Regions from separate parts of the Homo sapiens genome. Here region 1 is linked to region 2. Evidence: promoter capture Hi-C in 16 types of primary human blood cells and fetal thymus (Javierre and others, 2016). All regions are on one chromosome and are shown on one strand. Each heading gives the region's core, a stretch centred on a gene start or on the middle of the fragment in contact. The rest is flanking DNA. Distances are from core to core; before and after follow the strand shown.

Region 1 (2,700 bases), core at 43-2,542, about 80 Mb after region 2:
TCCTGTCTGCTACACTCACATTGCAACCTGCGCTTTTTTGTTGTTGTTGTTTCTTTTTCTTTTTGAGAGAGAGCCTTGCTCTGTCGCCCATGCTGGAGTGTAGTGATGCAATCTTGGCTCACTGCAACCTCCGCCTCCCAGGCTCAAGTGATCGTCATGCCTCAGTCTCCTGAGGAGCAGGGATTACAGGTGTGTACCACCACGCCTGACTAATTTTTGTGTTTTCAGTAGAGATGGGGTTTCTGCTGTGTTGACCAGGCTGGTCTCAAACTCCTGGCCTCAAGCTATCTGCCCACGGCCTCCCAAACTTCTGGGATTATAGGCGTGAGCCACCATGCCCGGCCAGCTTTTTCTTTAGTAACTCTCATCACACTTCTATTTTTTTAATGTCTGTATTCCCCCAAGTACACTATAAACAGGAATCGTGGCTATCTCGTAGGCACTCAGGAATTACTTGATGCTGTGAGAACTGGATGTGAAAGTTACCTATTTGAAGTTTATTCATCATGTAGATGACCAGGGAATCTTGTAGACCAAGTTTTGGTCCCTTTGGTACAACTAGCTTCTTCCAGCCTCTCTGAAGATCCGCAGACCTAAATTTAAGACAAATGGGGGCAGAGTGAGGAGGTGGAACCATGCTAGCAACTGAAAGGAAGCATAAAAAGAAATTTGCACAACTGGCCTTCCTAAACGTCAGAGTTAAAGATGACAGCGACCTCATCGCCATGACACACATTGCTAAGCCCTGCCCTCCATGTGTTTAATGGATGGGATTTTCTTCTTAAGGGTGACTTCTTTAATGAATAAATTGGTAAGATCTTAACCTGCATGTTTATACATAAATAAGTTCTATAAAACATAGCCAAATATCAGAAATGTTTTCACTTGGTGAATTACCTACAATTTATTGCTTAGAATGTACCCTCCTTCCTCATCTGGCCATGGGAAATCCTGTCCAACTTTAAAATCTCCATTTAATGCTAACTTTTTCACATAAACTGAAAGCCTTCTTATACAATCACCCCTTTGTGTCAAATACTATTATGTTTTATTATGGCTGATTTAGTTTCCTATGAGTGCTGTAATGAATTATCACAAACCTAGTGGCTTAAAACAACGTAAGTTTATTATTATCTTACAGTTCTGGTGGTCAGAAGTCTGAGACTGGTCTTAACATTAAGGTGTTGGCAGGACTGCATTCCTTCTAGAGGCTCTGAGGGTGAATTCTTTTTTTCTTTTCTTTTTCACACAGAGTCTCACTTTTTTGCCTAGACTGGAGTGCAGTGGCACCATCTCAGCTCACTGCAACCTCCGCCTCCTGGGTTCAAGCGATTCTTGTGCCTCAGCCTCCCAAGTAGCTGGGATTACAGGCACGCACCACCACGCTAGCTAATTTTTGTATTTTTAGTAGAGACAGGGTTTTGCCATGTTGGCCAGGCTGGTCTCGAACTCCTGACCTCAGGCGATCCACCCGCCTCGGCATCCCAAAGTGCTGGGATTACAGGAGTGAGGCACCGCACCTGGCCTCTGAGGGTGGATCTATTCCTTACCCTTCCCAGATTCTAGATACTGTCCACATTCCTTGGCTCCTGGCTCCATTCCAGCCACAGCATCACTCCAACCCCTGCTTGAGTCGTCATAGCGCCTTCTCTGACTCTGACCTCTGCCTTCCTTTTAGAAGGTCCCTTGTGATTACGTTAGCCCCAACTGGATAATTCCAGATACTGTTTTCATTTTAAGATCCTTAATCACATCAGCCAGTCCCTTTTGGAAGACAACCAAGATAATCATAGGTTCAGGAGATTAAAACATGGACATATTTGTAGAAGTATTTTTCTGTCTACCAAGGACAGACAATAAATAATAAAACAGAAAACAACAAATATCACTACACCTTCTTAGAGCATCTACAGTTTAATATTCCTATGTTTCTCTCTTCTCTCTCTACTAAATTATAAATTATAAGCCCTACCAGGTGTAGTGGTTCATGCCTGTGATCCCAGCTCTTTGGGAGGCCAAGCGGGGCAGATCACATGAGGTCAGGAGTCCGAGACTAGCCTGGCCAACATGGTGAAATTCCAGCTCTACTAAAAATATAAAAAATTAGCCGGGCGTGGTGGCATGCGCCTCTAATCCCAGCTACTTGGGAGGCAGGGGCAGAAGAATCACTTGAACCCAGGAGGCAGAGGTTGCAGTGAGCCAAGATTGCGCCATTGCACTCCAGCCTGGGTGACAGAGCAAGACTCTGTCTAAAAAATAAATAATAAATAATAAACTATAAGCCCTGCCTTAAATAATTTGGAATCCTGCCGGGCACGGTGGCTCATGCCTGTAATCCCGGCACTTTGGGAGGCCGAGGCGGGCGAATTACTTGAGGTCAGGAGTTCGAGACCAGCTTGGCCAATGTGGTGAAACTCCGTCTCTAAAAATACAAAACATAGCTGGGCATCGTGCCGGGCACCTGTAGTCCCAGCTACTCGGGAGGCTGAGGCAAGAGAATCACTTGAACCTGGGAGGCGGAGGATGCAGTGAGCTGAGATCACACCATTGCACTCCAGCCTGGGCAACACAGCAAGACTCTGTCTCAAAAAAATTAATATAATAATAATTTTGGATCCTACACACACATATACACACCATATGCATACGCACACACACACACACACACACACACACACACACACACACATTCTATAACCT
Region 2 (2,700 bases), core at 133-2,632:
AGCTCACTGCAACCTCCACCCCCTGGGTTCAAGCGATTCTCCTGCCTCAGCCTCCCTAGTAGCTGGGATTATAGGCGGGCGCCACCATGCCCGGGTAATTTTTTGTATTTTTAGTAGAGACGGGGTTTCACCATGTTGGCCAGACTGGTCTTGAACTCCCGACCATAGGCGATCCGCCGGCCTCGGCCTCCCAAAGTGCTGGGATTACAGGCGTGAGCCACCGCGCCCGGGCGTGATTTGTTTTAAATTTGTCATCTAAAGGACCACCAGGATAGCTAGATAGTAGACAAGAGTTTTACTATCAATATCAGTTTGCAAACCAGGGAGTCTCCAGCATGAACCCAAAGTGCTCTCTCAGAAGAACAGAGGTTAGAGGTTTTATTTTAAAAAGAGAAATATTAACTTATTTCTCTTTGAGAAAGTTCACTGGCACTAGTAAGGGTTTGGGGAGCTCTGACTGGTGAGCGAAGCCAGGGGGCCAGATCAGTCCTGGAGGTGGAAGTTATGCTGAAGCTATGGAATAAAACTGGCTTTAGGTCGGGCGCGGTGGCTTCTTCCTGTAATTTCAGCGCTTTGGGAGGCCGAGGCGGGCAGATCACTTGAGGTCAGGAGTTCAAGACCAGCCTGGCCAACATGGTTAAACCCCGTCTCTACTAAGTACAAAAAAACACTAGCCGGGCTGGCGCCTTGTAGTCCCAGCTTATGGGGAGGCGGAGGCAGGAGAAGCGCTTGACCCCGGGAGGCGGAGGCTGCAGTGGGCCAAGATCACGTCACTGCACGTCTCAAAAAAAAATTTTTTTTCTTTATAAAAAGACAAATTAAAAAACCTGGTTTCAGGTTACAACAGGCAGCTCAGCAGCCGGCCTGATGGTGACATTCCTCAAGGACGGCCTGCCCAGTGCTTCCTCCCTACCCCGCTGCTCGACTCTGCTGTGGTTGGGTATGGCAACAACGACACATTTTTATGATCAAGTTTCACAAATGACACACATGAACTGTCTTAGTAACACACAGAAACAAGCACCAGAAAGGAAGAAAACGAGCCGCAGTGCCGGGCATTCCGGGCCTTTCTGGACGTCCCCATCCGTGGCTGGAGGACAGCCCGGGCGGCGGCGGGCGGCCTCGGGGCGGGAGCGTGGGGGCAGGGCACGGCGAGCCCGGGGCTTCTCAGGACCACCAGGCCGCCTGGACGCTGGGGAGGAACCCCCACTCCGACAGCTGCTATGACGGAACCAACGGCGCTCCACGGTGCCCAGGTCGCCGCCGCTCCACCCGGCCAACTACACGTTCGCGCGGCGCCTATACGCACATGCCGTCAGCACGCACGGCGCTAGCGCGCGCGCATGCCGTCAGCACGCACGGCGTCGGTGCGTGCGCGCCCAGACGTTCTGCCGGGTGGCAGTCCCAGCGGAGTTTGCGTGTGCGGGCGGGACCGGATTTCGTCCGTGGGCCCGGGGGCGGCGGGGGCCGGGGAGTGAGGGGCCGGCTGAGCCCACCTCGCTGGGCCCTCCCTGGCGCCCCGCCTTGGGCGGCGGCGAGCGCGCGGGCCGCCATGTCGTACATGCTCCCGCACCTGCACAACGGCTGGCAGGTGGACCAGGCCATCCTCTCGGAGGAGGACCGCGTGGTCGTCATCCGCTTCGGCCACGACTGGGATCCTACGTGCATGAAGATGGACGAGGTCCTGTACAGCATCGCCGAGAAGGTAGCGCGCCGGACTCTCCCGCTCTGCGGGCTGTGCTTCCGCATCTGCCCCGCGCCTCTGCCCTGCCGGCGTCGCCTGGGGGCGCGAGCTGTTCCCCGAGGAGGGGCCGCGGCTCCGTCGTTCAGGCGATTCCTCCCCTCGCTGCGGTCGAGCGCTCTCGGGGACTGTGCCGGCGTTTCACGCCTTTTTCTGCGGGGAGCTCTTGTAGTTTTTCATATTTTAAAGGGTTTATGATCCCCCTCCTCTCAAATGAATTAATTATTTCTGTTGATAAGGCGTTTTTCCCAAACTTATAGTTCAGTGAACAAAATGCACTTGCAGGTTTTATTGAGAGCGCGGATCCTTAATTTAAAAGGACGTCTTTTTTTGGTACCTGAGTTATTCGTTGTATGCATAAAGCAGGACTTTCATGTTCATAGCATGAGAAATCCTGCTTTTCTGTGGGTGTGTTTTTTTATCCCACCACGCTTTTTGTGAGTCATGTGGTTTACAGCTTACAGTGATTGAGGTGCAGTAAACATCAGGAGAAAATAGAAATATGCTTTGTTAGAATTAGTTCTCTGAATTTCTAATATTAGTACACTGAGTGGTCTTGGCATTTACTTGCTGACAATAAAAGTTGTAGGACACTATTTTATAACCAGATTTCATTCTTTTTCTGTGGTTCCTCATAGCAATTTTAGGATGACTTTTATTGAGGTTTTGCAGCTGTAGCAATAGGGCAAAGGGCACAAATACTAGGGTGTTAATAAAATATTTGCCATATTAATTTTCCATAAGTAATTTGAGAGGTTATTCCTTTTAATGAAGAGTAAAAGTAACATTGAAGCTATCTTTTCTTTCACAGATGCTAAAAAGTAGGCCTGGGTTAAAATAACTCCTTTGAGTAAAGAGTAACAGATGTAAGGACATATTTTATATTCAGGAAAGGAAAGACTATCTGGCCTGCCATTTATTAATTTTTGCTATTTCTTATTTAGTAGGAGAGGCATGAA

What was found. Contacts are between HindIII fragments. The CHiCAGO score rates a contact against its expected background, and 5 or more counts as called.
Region 1: a fragment that was not itself captured here is called in contact with the fragment with the promoter of TXNL4A in region 2 in 1 of 17 cell types (total CD4 T cells); the score reaches 6.2 in total CD4 T cells.

The regions. Positions count from the first base shown.
Region 1 is chr18:153,302-156,001 of GRCh38, reverse strand. LOC105371951 (a long non-coding RNA gene) reads right to left here. Exons shown (of 4, transcript XR_935081.2): 3 at 487-593. Among named protein-coding and RNA genes, the nearest start is that of USP14, 3.9 kb to the left of the region's middle. The HindIII fragment of the contact is 5,646 bases long and covers 1-2,700 here.
Region 2 is chr18:79,987,245-79,989,944 of GRCh38, reverse strand. TXNL4A (thioredoxin like 4A) reads left to right here and starts at 1,382. Exons shown (of 3, transcript NM_006701.5): 1 at 1,382-1,705. The coding sequence starts at 1,553. RefSeq lists silencers at 1,000-1,289, 1,330-1,569. The HindIII fragment of the contact is 10,310 bases long and covers 1-2,700 here.